5 separate regions of the Homo sapiens genome follow, and regions 2, 3, 4 and 5 are each linked to region 1. Evidence: promoter capture Hi-C in human tissues and cell types (Jung and others, 2019). All regions are on one chromosome and are shown on one strand. Each heading gives the region's core, a stretch centred on a gene start or on the middle of the fragment in contact. The rest is flanking DNA. Distances are from core to core; before and after follow the strand shown.

Region 1 (3,454 bases), core at 503-3,002:
CCTCCTCCGGGCAGCAGCCCTCCCTCACGTGGTAGGCTCCTCGCTAAACACCACTGCAATCACTACAATAAAAAGAAAAAAAGGAGTAGGAGAAACACAAAGCATACTTAAATAGGCGCTTTTTCTCTCTGCAAAAATAAAGTCCAAGATTTTAGATTTCTTTTTTTTTTATTTTACAATTTATAAAACATCAGCCGCCTGCCCCCGCTCGCCCCCAGCTCAGCCCCGAGTGGCCCGGCGCCCGCTCGTTCCCTCCTCTCGCCCCTTTGCCGAGTCTTTGTCTGGCCCCAGCCCCGCGGGGCCCCGGGTCCCTGTGCCCTCGGGGGTCCCTAGAAGGCGACAATGGCTCGAGTCCAGGCGCCGAGGCTGGCGAGCGCCTGCTTGGCGCACAGCTGCCCGTTGAGCGGCGGCGGCTGCTCCGAGGAGTCCGGCTGTCGGCTCACCAGCCCCGAGAAGCCGGAGCCAAAGATGGAGATCAAGTTTGAGATGTTGGACGCGTCCGGGGACGAGTCCGGGCAGAAGTCCTCGAAGCGGGCGCGCTTGCAGGGGGCGAACGGGGCGCCCCCGGGGGGCTCGGCCCCCAGCCCGCCCGCATCCTCCTCGTCGTCTTCCTCCTCCTCCTGGCCAGGGTAATACTTGCGCTTGCAGCCGGCGGCGGACGCCAGGCCCGGTCCCGGAGCGCCCTGGCCACAGCAGGGGCAGTGGGCGGAGGCGCAGCAGTCCTGGTGCAAGTAGCCGTTCTCCACCGTGGTCACCACGTGAGTGTCTAGGTCCAGCACGGTGGTCTGGCTGCTGCAGTGCAAGCCGAAGTCCGAAGGGGTAGGGTATGCGCCCCGGTAGAAGCCGGGGGAGGAGGCGGGGGCCGGGGAGGCGGGCGGAGAAGCGGCGGCGGCCGGAGGGGCGGCCCCTGGGGGCGCGGAGCAGGCGGCCGGGGCGCGAGGGTCCCGCGGGCAGAGCGCAGCGGGCGCGGGCGGCGGCAGCGGCAGCGGCAGCGGCGCAGGACCCGGCTGCAGAGGCTCCAAGGGCTGCCCGCGGTGGGGCGCGCCGTGCGGCGGCTGGAGCGCGGCGCACCCGGGCAGCTCCGAGAGCGCCCCCGCGCCGCCCGCGGGCGCTCCGGCCGCCGCCGCCGCCGCGCAGCCCCTGGGCGCCGGGTGCTGGTGCTGGTGCAGCTGCTGCTGGAGGTGCAGCTGGTGGAGCTGGTGGAGCTGGTGCAGCTGGTGCCGGGCGGCCGGCTCGCGCGCCTCCGCGTCCCCGCCGCCGCCAAGTTGGAGCGGGCCGAAGTCGGCCGCGCTGGCCGGCATGCCCGGCGCCGCGTACGCTAGGTGCTGGTGCTGGTGGTGGGGCGGCTGCTGCTGTTGCTGCTGCTGCTGGCGCCGGTAGAGCTCGGCGTAGCGCTCGCTCAGGTAGAGCTGGCGCGCGTTGCGGAGCACGTAGGACACCAGGAGGTTCTTGTGCAGCTTGATGCCGCCGCGCTGGGTTCGGGAGCTGTGGATCTTGCGCAGGGAGATGCTGATCAGGCTCTGGGCGTCCAGGGCGCACTCCATGCTCCCGCGGAGACGGCGGCGGAGCAGCCGCCGCCGCTGCTGCTGTTAACGCTTCTGCTGTTTCTGCCTCCAGCCGGCCGCCGGGGCGCGCCGGGCAGGGGTAACGGAGTCCGGGTCAGAGGTTCGGCTGCGCTCCGAAAGGAGCCGCCACCATGCGCCGCGCGCCACCCGCGGGCTCGCGCTCCCCAGACGGCGCCAAAGCAATGAGTCTCGGCCGGCCCCGGCCCCAGCTATTTAGCCGGGTGCCCGGGCCCCGCCCCACATGAGAAGAGCCAATAGGAGCTCTGAGAGTCTCCTGAGTGACAGGCGCAGCCCGCCCCGGGGCTACTCGGCTGGCCAATCAGACCAAGGCGGTTCCTTTGTGCTATTCAAATACCGAACGGACCCCGGGCCTCCAACGCCGCTGCTGCCTCGAATGTTCTCCTGGGGCTGCCGCGCCGCGCGGGACTCGGAGCCGCCGGGGCCGCAGTCTGCAGCATAGGTCGCCTGGCAGCGGCCACGTTGAAGCCCGCGGCTGCCCTCGCCTTAGGTCCCGGGAGCCGGGGGTCGGCTCACCTGAGTGCTGCGGCGACGGCTCCTCCCCTTTCCGCACGGCTGGGCCTCACCTGCGGCAGGTGCGCGCCGCTCATCGCTCCCCCAGCGGCGCGGCGCCTCCACCTGCGCACCTGTCGCCCCCCCGAGTGACCCGCGGGAGTCAAGGCCTCTCTACAGGAGGCTGGTGGAGCCGCCGGCTTGACACTGGGGAACATCAAAGGAGCGAGGTTTTGGGGGTACCCTCTACCGCAGAGAATGTAGGGCCTGACTCCTTGACTTTTTGGTCGAGGGGCCTCTGGGAATGCTTGCGGAAGGGAAGTCCTCCCCATTTGTCTGACAGGAAAAACCAAAACATCGTGAATTTTGACCTTCTCTGATGGAGAGAGTTCCGAGGCCAGGCATGACCCAGGGAGTGTGTGGACCTCGCGACCAGCTGAGGCTCAAAAGCGTCCTGGGAGCCGAAACGCTGAGTGCCCTAATCACCAGCTCTGTAACCTTTCCTTTCGTGCCTAACTAATAATAATGACAATAGGGACTATTATTATGGGCCTAATATGGGGCAGGCCCTTCCCAGCAACTCCCCAATGCCTCACTCTAACGTTTGTAGAGGAGGGGCCTGAGGCTCGGAGGAGTGGAGTGACTTGGGGAACCACACAGTTCCCAGGGGGCGGAGCTAGGAGCTGGGACAGGACCCTGCGCTCGAGACGGGAGGTGAATACCAAAGGCCCGGGGACTCACCGACTTAACTTCTGTTGACACAGCTTTCCTTCTTATCCTGAACCCTTCAGGTCCCAGCTGGGGACTGAGACAGTGGGAGAAGAGAGGGACAGGATTGCTGATTCCTGGGGGCGCTCTATCTGGACCAAGAGGCCTGAAGGGGGCTGGTTGCTGCTCCCAGGGGTTTCAAAGGTGCCTGGGGTGGGGGCTGCCCAGACAGCTCTGGAGGCTCTTGGAAATGGTCTGGAGGTTTGCCTGAGGAGGGTCCATGAGTGGATCCCTGAAGGATGAACGAGGTCTGCAGAGTCTCCCAGAGATAGGTGGACCTTGTGGGGCTGGACTCAGGGGGGAGGCCCATGACCAGACGTCCTGCTGCTTCACCGCCTCCTCAGGGGATCTTCTGAGTCTCTGCTTTTTGGGGCTTCCTTCTGAGTTCTCAGCACCTACTTCATCCCTTGGTGGGAGTGGAGAGACCCAGTAGCCCACCCTGTGGTCTCTGGGTCTTTCTTTAGTCTTAAGAATTTCCAAGATTTCTGCAAAAGTTTCTTAGCATCTACTCCATGCCAGGCGTTGAGAGTGAAGACAGAGTTAGCGGGTGTTTACTTCATTTTTCCGATGAGGAAACTCGGACACTGACAGCGTGAGACTTGCCCAAGATC
Region 2 (3,589 bases), core at 145-2,644, 570 kb after region 1:
CAGCCTGGACAGCAGAAAAAAAAAACAAAACAGAAACCCCCGCCTCCAAGACAGGATGTGGGCTCTGAAGCTGGACACTGGAGTTCAAACCGGGCTGTGTGACCTTCATAAGTGATGTCTCCTCTCTGAGCCCAGGTTCCTCACCTAGAAAACAGGATGACTATGGCGCCTCCCCTGCCCTCAGGGCTGTGGCGGGGATCTCATGCTCAGCTCCGGGCCACATTCGGTCCTCTGGGAAGGATTCAATGAGTGAATGCAGCTGTTCTACTTGATGCCCGGATCCCATATCCCAGGACCAGCCAAGGCAGGGAGAAGTCAGAAGCTATCAGTGTGCTGTAGCCTCCGGGCATCCTATCACTTGGGCAGCTGCCCTGCCTTTAATCCTGCCTGTACCTGCAGCAGGGCCTGAGCCTGGCTTGTGGCCAAGATCCTCACTCCCCAGGATCCACCCGCATGCAGTGCCAGAGCCAGCCTTGCCTCACCTCGCCTTTGAACTGGACACAGGGGAAGACAGAGACAGTTTCAGGAAATGATTGCTTTATTAAAATACCTGGGGAGGAAGTAACAGGTGCCTGGGGTCTTTCTGCATTCTGCCGCCAGGACAGCCGACAAGCTCAGCCTATGACTTTGCAGACTCGCCAACCAGTGTGACGGACGCTACTGGAACTTGCCCCGGCCCAGCTCTGGGACTCGTTAATGTTGTTTTGGTTCAGGGGCTCGGATTAGTGGGGAAATTCCTCGCTGAGCACCCCGACGGTGCCCGGCTGGGAGCTGGCCTTTGGAGGCTACAGTGGGCTTGTTAGTGACATTTGCCAGGAGTTGGGAATTTCCACTTAAACGTTTCTCGGACTCCTGTTTTGCCGGTTCCCACTCCACCCAGATATCAGACCTCCCGTGCCGGGAAGCCACCAGGTTAGACAGAGGCTTTGTGCTGTCACGCTCCCACACTCCACCCTCCAGAACCTGCTTCTCTCACAGACACTCGCTGGCTCTCTCCATGCCAAGAACTCAGCCCGGTGGCACGGCAAGCGAGTAAGTGCTCTTAAGCCAGAGAGGAGAAGGTGCAGGCCTTGCTGACACGTGGGACTGGCAGGAAGCCCCCCGGCGGGGCTGGAAGAGGTGCTCACCTCCCAGCCCTGCACACACCTTGGCCATGTTTCCCTATCCCGGGGCTTTCCTGACAGGACGTGGAGAGAAGCAAGTATGACCCAGGCCGGGGACCCCCAGGGAGGCACATACCTTCTTCCGCAGCCTCACTTGGCCCGTGATGATGGCCACCACGTACATCTTGATGACCAGCAGCGTGCTGCAGAGCAGGAAGGCCGGGAGGGCCGGGCTGCTCATCACCAGGCTGTGGGCAGGCATCTCTGGCCAGCGCAGCTCAACTGTGGGTGTGATCAGCTCGACAGAGGAGCAGCCTGCAGGGAAAGCACAAAGTGGGAGGGGAGAGCCTTCCTGCAGCCAGCACCGCCCACGCCCCGCCCCACGGCAGCGGCAGCAGGGCCCCCTTCTCCTGTGAAGAGAAAGACAAGCAGTTGCCGGAGCTCCAAGAAGCAGAGAGTCTCCGGGTGTCCCGGACCCAGTCCCTGGCTCTGGAGCCCTCCTTCCAGGCAAATCCTCAAACACTTTCAAATCTGTTTCAAAGCTGTTTCCTTATCTACAGTGTGGGAGCATGTGGTGGTGCCTGCCTTCTAGGGAATGATGAGGCTGGGCACCTGGCAGGACCTCTGCACGTGGTGATTATCGCTGCCTCCTGCCCACCTCCGCAGGGTCAGGGTAGGTGGTGGGCATGAGAACCACGCCATGCGCCCCCACACTCAGCCTGGACAATGGAGCTGCAGCCACAATGGCATGACTTTGCCATCTGTGGCAGGCTGAAGGACGCCCTCCACCCCTAAAGACATCCATGTCCCAATCCCTAGAACCCGTGACTGTGACTATGTGGCAAAAGGGACTTTTCACATGGGATTTCGTAAGGATTTGAGATGGGAGAAATTATCCTAGTTTATCTGGGTGAGCCCAGAGTATACAGAGGGGCCCTTCCAAGAGGGAGGCAGTAAAATTAGAGAAAAGATATAAAAACAGAGGCAGCATTAAGAGAGGAGATGAAAGGACAGAATAGGGGTCAGACAGGAGAGACGCTAACCTGCTGGCCTTGAAGATGAAGGAGAGATCATGGCCCAAGGAATACCAGGGGCCTCTAGAAACTGGAAAAGGGGACGAAACAAACTCTCTGCGTTCAGACAGAACGCAGCCCTCCCGACACTTTGATTTTAGCCCTGTGAGACCCATTTCAGGCTTCATCCACCAGAACTGTCAGAGAATGAAGCTGTGTTGTTTTAAGCCACTAAGTCTGTGGTAATTTGCTATAGCAGGGATGGGGAACCAGCACGTGGCTCCACTGACTTCCTGAGCATCACTTGACTATCCTGGAACTCTTTCCCCAGTCAAATGCTTTGATTCTTCATCACAAGATCTCCCCGAAAGACCTATCAACTGACTCTTCAGTAGAAAGCATCACCAGGCCGGGCGCGGTGGCTCACACCTGTAATTCCAGCCCCTTGGGAGGCCAAGGGGGACAGATTACCTGAAGTCAGAAGTTCAAGACCAGCCTGGGCAACATAGGGAGACTCCGTCTCTACAAAAAAATGTTTTAATTAGCTGGGCATGGTGGTGCTCGCCTGTATTCCCAGCTACTCAGGAGGCTGAAGTGGGAGGATCACCTGAACCCAGGAGGCTGAGGCTGCAGTGAGCCATGTTCTCACCACTGCACTCTAGCCTGGGTGACAGAGCAAGACCCTGTCTCAAAAAAGAAAGAAAGCATCAACGTTTGTTTTCTAAGATTCTTTGAATCCCTCACCTCAAAATCCTCACCTTGGCCAGGTGGCTCACACATGTAATCCCAGCACTTTGGGAGGCCGAGGGGGGCAGATTATCTGAGGTCAGAAGTTCGAGACCAGCCTGGCCAACGTGGTGAAATCCCCTCTCTACTAAAAATACAAAAATTAGCCAGATGTGATGGCAGACACCTGTAATCCCAGCTACTTGGGAGGCTGAGGCGGGAGAATCGCTTCAACCTGGGAGGTGGAGGTGCAGTGAGCCAAGATTGCACCACTGTACTCCAGCCTGGGCGACAGACCGAGACTCTGTCTCAAAAAAAATCCTCACCTTGCTGCATCCTGCCCGCTTCCCCGGGTTCTGGCAGGACCTCCACAAGGTCAGGGATCTTTTTTTTTTTTTCTTGTGAGACAGACTCCTGCTCTATCACCCAGGCTGGAGTGCAATGGCGTGATCTCTGCTCACTGCAACCTCCACCTCCAGGTTCAAGCAATTCTCCTGCCTCCGCCTCCCAAGTAGCTAGGACTACAGGTGCCCACCACCACGCCCAGATAATTTTTGTATTTTTAGTAGAGACGGGGTTTCACCATGTTGGCCAGGATGGTCTCAATCTCTTGACCTTGTGATCCACCCACCTCGGCCTCCCAAAGTGCTGGGATTACAGGCATGAGCCACCGCACCTGGCCAAGGGCAGGGATCTTGTACACGGTTCTTGCTCATTTATTTTCGCCAACATATTTGGCTTTGCTGA
Region 3 (3,935 bases), core at 1,272-3,771, 520 kb after region 1:
TTGATGTGGCCCCATTTCCTTATAAAGCCCCCTCTGAGAAGGCGGAAAGCTGAAGTTTAATCTGGAGCCAACAAATTACTTGGAATTTGCAAGCACACATGCTTAGCCCATAGGAGCTAAAGTCCACAGTAAAAGAAAGAAAACGAAAAAAAAAAGAAAGGTGGGGTAGGGAGTCACAGAAGGAGAGAAAGGGAGGAAGACAAAACCCACCTCCACTCACCAACTGGCTAAGACTCAGATGTATTATCATGGAATCTAGTGTGGGGGGTCCTAATGCTCACAGCCCCCTTTTCAAAACGAAAACAAGCCACATACCCCTGAATAGTAGAATGGTACTTCTAAAGCAGGGCACCTTGGCTGGGCACGGTGGCTCACGCCTGGAATCCCAGCACTTTGGGAGGCTGAGGCGGATGGATCGCTTGAGCCCAGGGGTTAGGCACCAGCCTGGGCAACATGGTGAAACCCCGTCTCTACAAAAAATACAAAAATTGGCCAGGCGTGGTAGTGGGCGCCTGTAATTTCAGCTACTCTAGAGGCTCAGGTGGGAGGATCGCTTAAGCCTGAGAGTTCAAGGCTGCAGCGGAGCCCAGATCGCGCCGCTGCACTCCAGCCTGCGCCACAGAGTTAGACCCTGTCTCGAAAAAAATAATAGTAATAATAATTTTTAAAAAATACATTTTATAAAGCAAAGCTACCCTCGGTTCCCGGTTTGATAAGGGGTGGATTCCAAATAAGCAGCTGTCTTGCCGCCTTGCCAAGGGAAAGGAGCTGGGCAAATTCCTGCAGAGTCCCCACAAAGCTTCACTTTCCCCAGATGCTTGGGTGGGAGGACCCTCGCTAAGGGATCAAGGTTGCAGGTGCAGAGGGGGTCCCTGACAGAGGGAGGGCAAGGGAGGGGCGCCCCGGGTGAAGGTGACTTTGAGTTCCAGGTGTGTGGGCTAGCAGTTGAAGAGGGGGTGCAGCGCGGACCCCCCTGGGGCCAGAGTCCGATAGACCAGCTGAATGGCCGCTCTGCAGCTTTCTCGCTGTGTGACCTTGGGCGACTGACCTCCCTCCCTAGTCTCGGTTATCCCGACTGTTAAACGGGGACGGTAGCAGCAGTACCTGCCTCATAGGGTTACCGTGTGTGGAGACACGCCCATAGGCGCCCGGCCCGGCCTGGCCCTTAGCCTTGGCCTTGGCCGGAGCTGGACACGTAGGAACTGCCTTTGTCACTAATCGGGGGTTGGATTCCCTTGCACTCGGTGCCAGGATAGGAAAGAGCAGTCAGTCCTGGCTCCCACCCGGGACCTGCCTGGAGAGCGGGAGTGGAGAGGGAGGTGTCTGAGCTGGAAGGAAGGCGAGGAGGGAGCTGGCTGGGCTGCAGGGGAGCGCTGCGTCCCGCTCCCCCTCCCCTAGGCCGTGCCCCCTCCCGCCCGGCCGGGGCGCGCACCCTCGGAGCAGCTGGGCGGCGGCGGCGCGGGCAGCGCGGGGCTGGGCGCGGGATCTATTAACGTCTGTGTGTCTGGGCCGCGGGACTGCGGCGAGGCAGGCGCCAGGGGCTCGTCTGGAACCAGATGTGCCGCGGCGCCGCTCTGGCCGCCACCAGCGCGGCGCGCTCGCACGCACTGGCTGGCGCGCACATGGCCGGGCTGGGCGGCGGCGGCTGGCGCGCCGGCCCTGGCATCCCCTGGATTTCGGACCGACCCCAGACCCGCGCGTGCGGAGGGGAGACCCCCGCCCAGCAAGCCAGCTCCCCGTCCAGATGGGAAAGCCACCCACGAGACGGGTGGGGTCCGCCTCGCCCCTCGGCCCTGTCCCGGGGGAGGGAAAGATGGCTTCTCAGAAACCTGCCCCCCTGCTAGCGCCCCCGCTGTCTCCACCCCACAAAGGGCTGGGGACGCTTCCCCGCCCCCCGAAGTTTGTTTTCCTAAGTTTGTGCGTAAGATTTTTCAAAATTCTGAGTCAGAGCTTCCCCTAAGATGAGGCCTTTGGGGCATGCGAGAAACGCCAAAATGTGGGTGGGGGAGGGGAGCGTGGAGGTTGGAGGGTTTTAAGCGCCGGGATTCGGAAGGGGGCTTTTCACCCACTGGGTGAGTACAAGGGCTTCATTGAGGCCGGTCCCAGCTCCGCACCAAATCTGTCTTAACCACAAGGTGGTCCCTGGTCCTGGCTGCTGTCAGCACCGAGCCTTCCCGTCCCCAGGCAGCTTCGGGGTGCTCTGCCTTTCTGGACCAGCCCCTTCAGCTCTCTGGGCCCCCTCGCAGGGCCTATAAAGTGAGCAGTGGAGCTGGGAGCTCCCAGCAGGGGAGCTTAGGAGAAATGGGTGGTTGGATGGGGCGGGGGGGGGGGGGGGCGGGGGCACTTAGGCTCTGTCTCCATGGTTCTCCACCAAAAGGAAGCGTAAGACCAGGCGGTGGTGCTGCCAGGCCGGGCTGGGCCAGGCCAACCCAGTCTGGCTGCAGAGAAGAGGGCTTGCCCAGGGCTTGGGACTCAGCAGTTCCCCGAGTTCCCCCTGGTGTGCAGCCCTTCCCCATGATCGGGAGGAGGGTGTTTGGTGAAACACACGTGGCAAGAGCGGGTTTTTCCCGCCACGCCTGCCTTCCTTGTTCCGGAAAAGGGGAGCTGGGATGCTGGGTAGGGTGGGGGTGTCAGCCATGCACATCAACTCAGAGACTAATCCCTGCTAGGCGCGTGTGGGCAGAGGTTGAGACAACCCAGACTGGGCAGCCAAGGCTTTGGCCATTTGTCAGTACTGGGTGGACGCCCCCTCACGTCACTACCTCACGTCACTACCATCCCATCTGAGGCCCTATGGGCCCACTTCACAGGGAAACAGGCCCAGAGAGGAGCGGTCACAGGCTCAAAGTCACAGAGCTGGGATGTGGAGAAGGTAGGATTCCCACCCTGCCTGCTGGACTCCAGAGATGAAACCTTGGGCTTGGGATCAAATCTTCCTGGTGTCTGGAGGCTCAGGAAACAAGGTGGTTCGTTCCTAAACTCTAGGAAGTAGAGGGAGGATGCTGGCCCAGCTGGAGGGCCATCAGGATAGCCTGACTGTCCCTTCCCTCCCAGGGCATGCTGGAGGCCCTTCCCCACAGGAAGGCCGCTGTGCCTGTTCCTCTGACTATGAGCACCAGCAAAGCCAGGCTGAAGCATTTCCCTGTGGGAGGTGATTTCCCTAGCCCATGCTCTGGCCTGTCAATTAAAAAAATCCATCAATAGGCTGGGCGCAGTGGCTCACGCCCATAATCCCAGAACTTTGGGAGGCCAAGGTGGGCAGATCACTTGAGGTCAGGAGTTCGAGACCAGCCTGGCCAACATGGTGAAACCTCGTCTAAAATATATACACACAAAATTAGCTGGGCGTGGTGGTGCGCACCTGTAATCCCAGTTGCTTGGGAGGCTGAGGTGGGAGAAACACTTAAACCCAGGAGGTGGAAGTTGCAGTGAGCCGAGATCACGCCATTGCACTGCAGCCTGGGCAACAGGGCAAGACTCTGTCTCAAAAAAAATATATATATGTGTGTGTGTGTGTGTGTGTGTGTGTGTGTGTATACATATATCCATCAATATATTAGTTTCTGCAGATAGGAGGGTCCAGAAGTGAGAAGGCTTGTAATGGTGTATAGTGCATACAAATTTTCAGGTGTTTGGGCAAGCAGAGAATTGAGATTATGTTCCCATCAGGAGCCAAAATCCATTCATTCATTCACTTACATATTCATTCAGTATTTATTGAGGACCTGCTATGCATCCGCCCGGAATAAAGAATATCCAGTGTGTGACTGTGCCATGGCTTTCTACATGGTCCAGCCCAGCTTTCTGGGAAGCATCCACGAAGGATGAATTCTTTCCTTGGGCACCTTCAGGGCAGCCTCTGCTCTGTGTGTGTCAGTGCAAGCTTTGGGGAGGAAGTGTCCCAGGGAGCAGAGAACTTGGTCTCTGAGGCACCG
Region 4 (3,809 bases), core at 113-2,612, 620 kb after region 1:
GGCCGACCCAAGAAACGCACATTATACCTCCGGCGAAGTGAAGGGAGGGATAACAAAGCAAAGCTTGAGGGCTCCGAGAAGCTCTGAAGAAAACAAATCCAGCCATAAGCCCACTCCTGTAACCCCAGGCTTTGGAAGACGGAGGCAGGTAGATCGCTTGAGGTCAGGAGTTCGAGACCAGCTTGGGCCACATGGCGAAACCCCGTCTCTACTAAAAACACAAAAGTTGGCTGGGCGTGTTGGCGGGCACCTATAATCCCAGCTACTCCAGCAGCTGAGATGGGAGAATCGCTTGAACCTGGGAGGAAGAGTTTGCAGCGAGCCGAGATCCTGCCACTGCGCTCCAGCCGGGGCGACAGAGCCAGACCCTGTCCCCAATATACATATCAGATAAGAAAAAAATATAAGAAAGTTTAAAAAAATTTTTTTTGGCTTTTTTTTGTTTTTTTTGAGACGGAGTCTCGCTCTGTCGTCCAGGCTGGAGTGCAGTGGCACGATCTCGGCTCACTGCAAGCTCCGCCTCCCAGGTTCACGCCATTCTCCTGCCTCAGCCTCCCGAGTAGCTGGGACTACAGGCGCCCGCCACCATGCCCGGCTGATTTTTTCTATTTTTCGTAGTGATGGGATTTCACTGTGTTAGCCAGGATGGTCTTGATCTCCTGACCTCGTGATCCGCCTGCCTCGGCCTCCCAAAGTGCTGGGATTACAGGCGTGAGCCGCCGCGCCCGGCCAGCCTTTTTTTTTTTTTTTGAGACAGTTTCGCTCTTGTCGCCCAGGCTGGAGTGCAGTGGCACGATCTCGGCTAACTGCAACCTCCGCCTCCTGGGTTCAAGAGATTCTCCTGCCTCAACCTCCCGAGTAGCTGGGATTACAGGCGCCCGCCACCACACCCATCTAATTTTTTGTATTTTTAGTAGAGACGGGGTTTCGCCACGTTGAGCAGGCTGGTCTCGAACTCCTGACATCAGGTGATCCGCCCGCTTCAGCTTCCCAAAGTGCTGGGATTACAGGCGTGAGCCACGGCGCCCGGCCAAAAAAAAAAAATTTTTTTTTTTTTTTTTAGATATTTTTTCACTCTTGTTGCCCAGGCTGGAGTGCAATGGCGTGATCTCGGCTCGGCCTCCCAAAGTCCTGGGATTACAGGCGTGAGCCACCGCGCCCGGCCCGAAAAAATTTTTTTAAAAGAAAAGGGAAACAAAACAGTCTCCTACACCTTCGGACCACTCCCAAGAACGATGGCACCGCCCTCCTCTCCGCCCCTCACCAACATGGCCGCCCCCAAGGGAGTGGGCGGGTCTGCGGGGCGGAAGTGACGCACGAGAGGAAGTCCGTCCTGCCGCTTGGCCGCGGGGCGCCTGGCTCAGTGGCTTCTGCGGGCTTCGAGGAGCGGGATGTTGCGGGCTGGGTGGCTCCGGGGCGCGGCGGCGCTGGCGCTGCTGCTGGCGGCCCGAGTGGTGGCGGCGTTCGAGCCCATCACCGTGGGCCTAGCCATCGGGGCCGCGTCGGCCATCACCGGCTACCTGTCCTACAATGACATCTACTGCCGCTTCGCCGAGTGCTGCCGCGAGGAGCGGCCGCTCAACGCTTCGGGTACGGCGCGCGCGCGAGCTGTGGGTCGGCGCTGCGGGGGGCGCGGGGGCGCGGGGGCGCGGAGGGACGGCCTCGTGGGCGCCTGGCACGGACCGGGCCCGTGGCATCTAGACGGCGGTGGTCCCAGCTGGGGTGGGCGGGGAGCGGATGGGGCGGCCCCGGAACCGTTCGCGGGAACGCAGAAGCGGTGCCTTCGCAAACAGTCTCCAGATCGTGGGGCTGCCCCAGCGCCTTTCTAAAGCTCCCGTTCCTTGGGATCACAGGTGGAAGAAACGGAAAGTAGGCGGGCGGCCCTTCTGCGCCCTGCCAACCCTATTAAGTAGTTTTCAGACGTGCTGCGTCGCCCAGAAAGCCCACATTTGGCCCCTGGTTTTCCTGCAGGTCAGCAAGGGTGGCTGGGATTAGCAAGCGCTCAGTCAAGCGATGGTTCATCTCTGAATGAATGAACATTTAGCTTCCTTATCAGACCCCGAAGCGTTAAGGACCTCCACATAATCTTGAAAGTGGCATCGTTTGACTGCCTCGGCCCTAGGGTGTGGCAGACACCCTGCTGTGTCCCTGGATAATCTGTGCTTCTTGCTTTGGCCAGCTAAGAAAGTGCTGCGTTGCTGATGCATTTTTAAGGTCTGTTTCTCTCTTTGTTCTGGGGCTGTTCTTGCAGCTCTCAAGCTGGATTTGGAGGAGAAGCTGTTTGGACAGCATCTAGCCACGGAAGTGATTTTCAAGGCGCTGACTGGCTTCAGGAACAACAAAAATCCCAAGAAACCACTGACCCTTTCCTTACACGGCTGGGCTGGCACAGGCAAGAATTTTGTCAGTCAAATTGTGGCTGAAAATCTTCACCCAAAAGGTCTGAAGAGTAACTTTGTCCACCTGTTTGTATCGACTCTGCACTTCCCTCATGAGCAGAAGATAAAACTGTACCAGGCAAGAGAACCCGCTATTATCTCGTCTGCAGGCCAGTCGGACTGGTCCGGGTGACCTGCTCACTAACTCTGGCCTCTGCTTCTCTTTCCTTTGTGTTGCTGTAGCCCCCGGCTCCACTGAGTTAAGGCACACTTAGTCCAGGTAGTTACAAAGCTCTCCTACAACATTTCTCTTACTTGGTTCCAAAACAGTCCAGTGGGGTAGGGGATGTTATTTCCATTAAAAGATGGGGAGCCAAGGGCCTGGCGCCGTGGCTCACGCCTGTAATCCCAGCATTTTGGGGAAGCCGAGGCGGGCGGATCATTTGAGGCCAGGAGTTTGAGACCAGCCTGGCCAACATGGTGAAACCCCATCTCTACCTAAAAGTACCAAAATTACCTGAGCACGGTGGCACGCACCTGTAATCCCAGCTACTTGGGAGGCTGAGGCAGGAGAATCGCTTGAACCTGGGTGGCAGAGGTTGCAGTGAGCTGAGATCGCGCCACCGTACTCGGTCTCAAAAAAAAAAAAAAAAAAAAGGCCTGGCACAGTGGCTCACGCCTGTAATCCCAGCACTTTCGGAGGCCGAGGGGGGCGGATCACGAGGTCAGGAGATGGAGACCATCCTGGCTAACACGGTGAGACCCCGTCTCTACTAAAAATACAAAAAATTAGCCGGGGATGGTGGCGGGCACCTGTTGTCCCAGCTACTCGGGAGGCTGAGGCAGGAGAATGGCCTGAACCCGGGAGGCGGAGCTTGCACTGAGCCGAGATCGCGCCACTGCACTCCAGCCTGGGCGACACAGTGAGACTCTGTCTCAGAAAAAAAAAAAAAAAAGAGAGATGTAGTCAGGGCCAGGTGCAGTGGCTCACGCCTGTAATCCCAGCACTTTGGGATCCGCCAAGGCGGGCGGATCACCTGAGGTCGGGAGTTCGAGACCAGCCTGACCAACATGGAGAAACCCCGTCTCTACTGAAAATACAAAATTAGCCGGGCGTGATGGCGTGCGCCTGTAATTCAAGCTACTTGGGAGGCTGAGGTTGCAGTCAGCTGAGAATGGGCCACTGCACCCCAGCCTGGGCAACAGAATGAGACTCTGTCTCAAAAAAAAAGAAAAAAAAAAAAGATGGAGCCTGGAGCCCAGAGGCAAGGTGACTTACTCCTACAATCTTTGTAGCAGAACAGGACCTTTGTAGCAGAACCAAAACCTCCCAACTCCCAGTTGACATGGTAGCCACCTTCTCTGGTGAGTGAAGGGATTCCACATCCCCAGCAGTGCAGTTGGTGAGAAGGGGCAGTCAGTCTTCAAGGA
Region 5 (3,842 bases), core at 981-3,480, 540 kb after region 1:
GGGTGGCTGAGGCAGGAGAATCGCTTGAACTCGGGAGGTAGAGGTTGCAGTAAGCTGAGATTGCGCCACTGCACTCCAGCCTGGGTGACAGAGTGAGACCCTGTCTCAATAAATAAACAAACAAACAAACAAATAAAAATAAATTTTCGTAAAGCGCTTAGAACAATGCCTGGCACCAAGGGTTCTGATAAAGAAGTCCTTTTCCAGTTTCAAGTTCTTAACTCTGTGCCAGCACTGAGCCGAGTGCTCAGCAAGCGCCTCTCCCCGCGAGTCCTCAGCAAGCGCCTCTCCCCGCGAGTCCTCAGCAAGCGCCTCTCCCCGCGAGTGCTCAGCAAGCCCCTCTCCCCGCGAGTGCTCAGCAAGAGCCTCTCCCCCCGAGTGCTCAGCAAGCGCCTCTCCCCCCGAGTGCTCAGCAAGCGCCTTTCCCCGCGAGTGCTCAGCAAGCACCTCGCTCCCAGTGGCCGAGTGCCTCTCCATTCGTTCTCATTCTCCAACACATTCTCCATTCATTCTCCATTCATTGGTGTTCTCAATCTCCAACACATACCCAGCAGCAGGCGTCATTTGTCATCCCCATTCTACAGATGAAAAAACTGAGGGTCAGAGAGGTGACGCTGCCAGCCCTGGGCTGGTGACAGAGCAGGCACACACCCAGGTCCAGAAGGACTTGGGTCCCCCCTGCCCATGCTGCACCCTGCTCACCCTCCCACCCACAGGTCTGGTTTCAGAACCGCCGCGCCAAGTTCCGCAGGAATGAAAGGGCCATGCTGGCCAGCCGCTCTGCCTCGCTGCTCAAGTCCTACAGCCAGGAGGCCGCCATCGAGCAGCCCGTGGCTCCCCGGCCCACCGCCCTGAGTCCAGATTATCTCTCCTGGACAGCCTCGTCCCCCTACAGGTGAGAGCGGGAACACCTTTGGGCCAGGAAGGGGCAGCTCGAGGAATCCCAGAGGGCTTTTCCGGCCTGGACTCCTCTGAGGGTCTGGAGAGAGCTTGAATGGTGTCCACGCGCCCCTGGGATCTGGGGTACACCAAGTGATGTGTGGCGAGTGTGCCTGTGAGTGGGTGTTCACGAGCACCTGCACGTGCATGTTGTAAGAGTTGGCATGTGTGTGTGTGTCAACGTACATGTGGGCACACATGACTGTGAGTGTGCATGCACATGCCTGCGTATGCAAAGGAGCGTGCAAGCATGCGTGTCCACAGGGGTGTGAGTGTGTGCGTGAACACCTGGAGCCGGGAGAAAACAGGCCTATCTGGAGGGGGAGCAAAGTACAGGCATCACCCTGAGGGAGTAGAAAACCTGCAGGAAGATTCCTAGGCTGTCACGGGGGCCCCAGCGCCCTGTGTCCACCCTCCAGACGAGAAACTGACGCTGGGAGGGCTGAGGAAATGGTCTCCCTGGCCTGCGGGCATGGCTGGGGCCCAGAGCCAAGTTCTGGGGCAGTTTTGTCTGGATCAAAGCTGGAAAGACTCTGACATGGTCGGCAGGAGGTGCTCGAGAGTCGGGCCACCATACCCCACAGCTCCAGAGGCGCCGTCTGCTCCTTGGGCTGTGAGGGTGGCTCTGCTGGAGCCATGGTCATGTGGGGGGACAGGGATTTCGTGGGTCCGCTTGAGGGTTCTTAGTCCTCACCGCCCTCCTAACTTCCCTCCCTATTCATCGTTACAGGGGGCAGGAAAACCAAGGGGCATCCTTATTTATTTATGTATTTATTTTTGAGACAGAGTCTCGCTCTGTCACCCAGGCTGGAGTGCAGTGGTGCAATCTCGGCTCACTGCAACCTCCGCCTCCCAGGCTCAAGCAATTCTCCTGCCTCAGCCTCTTGGGTAGCTGGGATTACAAACGCCCGTCACCACGCCAAGCTAATTGTTTGTATTTTTAGTAGAGACAGGGTTTCAACATGTTGGCCAGGCTGGTCTCGAACTCCTGATCTCAGGTGATCCGTCCACTTCGGCCTCCCAAAGTGTTGGGATTACAGGCGTGAGCCACCACGCTTGGCCCCAAGGGGCATCCTTAAATCCAGGTGCCTGTTCATTCTGCCTCCATCCTGCTGAGAGCCAGGCCCAGGGTACGCATGGAGGGGGGCATGGACCAACCCAGGCCCTGCTGTCAGGAAGCTCATGGCTCATATGGAGGCTCCTGTGTCCCAGCACTGAGCTGGGGGGACTTCTGACTCCTGCCCAAACCCTACAGCTCCAAATCACCCCCAGTCCTGGGTGAAGGCTGCCCAGGAGAGCAAGCTAAGGAGGGGGGTGGCAGGACCAGAGGCTGGGGTCGAGCACTGATACCCAGAAGCCAACCGCACCCATGTGACCTGTGTCTCATGTCGCCCCCAGCACAGTGCCACCCTACAGCCCTGGGAGCTCAGGCCCCGCAACCCCAGGGGTCAACATGGCCAACAGCATCGCCAGCCTCCGTCTCAAGGCCAAGGAGTTCAGCCTGCACCACAGCCAGGTGCCTACGGTGAACTGAAGTCCAGTCCCACCAGGACCCAGACGCCTCCCTGGGTGGACAGCAATAGAAAAGGGGGCAGACGCCCAGGAAGTGACCTTCTCCTGGATGAGCTCTCCTGGCCCGTCTGTCCAGCCTGGACTCCCGAGCCCACGAGGCTGTTGAGGCCCCTGCAGCCGGGCCCAGCTCTTCTGTCCTTGGCCACCAGAGACTGCAGCCCACAACCCTTGGAGGGGTTGGGCCGGAAGGTGGAAGAGCCTGCCAAGGACCTCATTTAGTTTGTGTATTAAAACCAAAAAGCTTTTGTCTTTAAGAAATAAAACCATTTTTTTAAGCCCCAAAAGGTTGCAGGAAGGTGGGTAAGGGCCGCAAACAATGTTGGTGGCTGAGATGAGAGCTGGGACCCCACAGGGCTGGATGGCCTTCCTGGGCCCTTTTCTGGCCTGCAGCAGGCATGGAGACCGCCTCGGCCTGGCTCAGACCAGCAGCCATGGGAGGCCCACTGCCCTCATATCTGTACTGTTCCCGGGAATGAAGTCCTCTGTCACCCTGCAGGGCCCCCAGAAATGGGGGCTGGGGGGGTGGGAGAGGAGGACAGAAACCCACCCTAGACCCCATCTCCCATCTTGAGTCCCAAGGGGACACCCAGATGTTTGGGCAGAGCCTTGCTGTGTGAACCTGGGCAGGGATCGTCTCCCCATCCTATTGCGGGGCAGGATGGGTGATCATGGATTCCTAGACTGGCCAGAGGGTGTGTGGGACAGATGGAAGGACATTCAGTCCCTTGCTTCTGGGCACACAGAAGGCGTGGGATCTCTCCGGCCATTTAACCATGAAGGGGCTGAGGAAATGGCCCAGAAAACAGGTGCAGACTGTAGGTCCCGGCCAGGCTCCCAGGACAGCTGAGGCCAGCAGAAGACTCAAGTCCCTCAACCCACCCATTTGCAGCCAGTAACTGAGGGTGCCACCAGCCAGTGACACCACTTACGAGGGATCTGCAGAAAACAGGGGTGAGGGATGGTCTGAGGCCAGTCCCTCTACCTGTCCCCACGCCCACCAGGGAAGTCAGGAGAGCCTTTCTGCTCAAAGTCACCCCAGTCCAGCCCCCGGGAGGTAGGACAACACTCCCCCATCCCAGAGGGCACAAAGACGGTCAGCCCTGGGCAATGGTGGTGGGAACCCTGGCCCTTGGGGTGGCGGGGTGGCAGATGGCACAGCAAGGAATCTCGATGGAGTCAATGAGCTGGGCCAGTTCTCCAGTATCCCGCCCTGCCCATGCAGGGTCACCATGCCCCTAAAGTGCCAGCCATGGGGCTCCACACATGAGTAGTCTGCACGGGGACAACCTACTTTCTTTTTCTTTCTTTCTTTCTTTCTTTCTTTCTTTCTT

What was found. Contacts are between HindIII fragments. The study calls those that stand out against the background at their distance.
Region 2: the fragment with the promoter of PTGES here is called in contact with the fragment with the promoter of IER5L in region 1 in 8 of the 25 tissues and cell types used here (IMR-90 fibroblasts, adrenal gland, aorta and 5 more).
Region 3: a fragment that was not itself captured here is called in contact with the fragment with the promoter of IER5L in region 1 in 2 of the 25 tissues and cell types used here (H1 embryonic stem cells and lymphoblastoid cells).
Region 4: a contact is called between the fragment with the promoter of TOR1B here and the fragment with the promoter of IER5L in region 1, in 5 of the 25 tissues and cell types used here (aorta, dorsolateral prefrontal cortex, heart right ventricle and 2 more).
Region 5: a contact is called between a fragment that was not itself captured here and the fragment with the promoter of IER5L in region 1, in 1 of the 25 tissues and cell types used here (dorsolateral prefrontal cortex).

What each region holds. Positions count from the first base shown.
Region 1 is chr9:129,176,509-129,179,962 of GRCh38, forward strand. IER5L (immediate early response 5 like) reads right to left here and starts at 1,753. Exons shown (of 1, transcript NM_203434.3): 1 at 1-1,753. The coding sequence starts at 1,544. The coding sequence ends at 330. RefSeq lists silencers at 1-57, 1,008-1,347, 1,578-1,957 and enhancers at 1,682-1,976, 1,714-2,637, 2,638-3,454. The HindIII fragment of the contact is 19,795 bases long and covers 1-3,454 here.
Region 2 is chr9:129,751,648-129,755,236 of GRCh38, forward strand. It overlaps PTGES (prostaglandin E synthase), which reads right to left and starts at 1,395. Exons shown (of 3, transcript NM_004878.5): 1 at 1,240-1,395. The coding sequence starts at 1,365. The HindIII fragment of the contact is 20,404 bases long and covers 1-3,589 here.
Region 3 is chr9:129,695,938-129,699,872 of GRCh38, forward strand. The region is part of intron 1 of PRRX2 (paired related homeobox 2); the gene reads left to right. Among named protein-coding and RNA genes, the nearest start is that of PRRX2-AS1, 21 kb to the right of the region's middle. The HindIII fragment of the contact is 5,585 bases long and covers 1-3,935 here.
Region 4 is chr9:129,801,822-129,805,630 of GRCh38, forward strand. TOR1B (torsin family 1 member B) reads left to right here and starts at 1,363. Exons shown (of 5, transcript NM_014506.3): 1 at 1,363-1,590; 2 at 2,252-2,517. The coding sequence starts at 1,392. RefSeq lists silencers at 1,443-1,572, 1,633-1,752. The HindIII fragment of the contact is 20,911 bases long and covers 1-3,809 here.
Region 5 is chr9:129,719,880-129,723,721 of GRCh38, forward strand. PRRX2 (paired related homeobox 2) reads left to right here. Exons shown (of 4, transcript NM_016307.4): 3 at 717-895; 4 at 2,338-2,795. The coding sequence ends at 2,473. Among named protein-coding and RNA genes, the nearest start is that of PRRX2-AS1, 3.1 kb to the left of the region's middle. The HindIII fragment of the contact is 3,172 bases long and covers 645-3,816 here.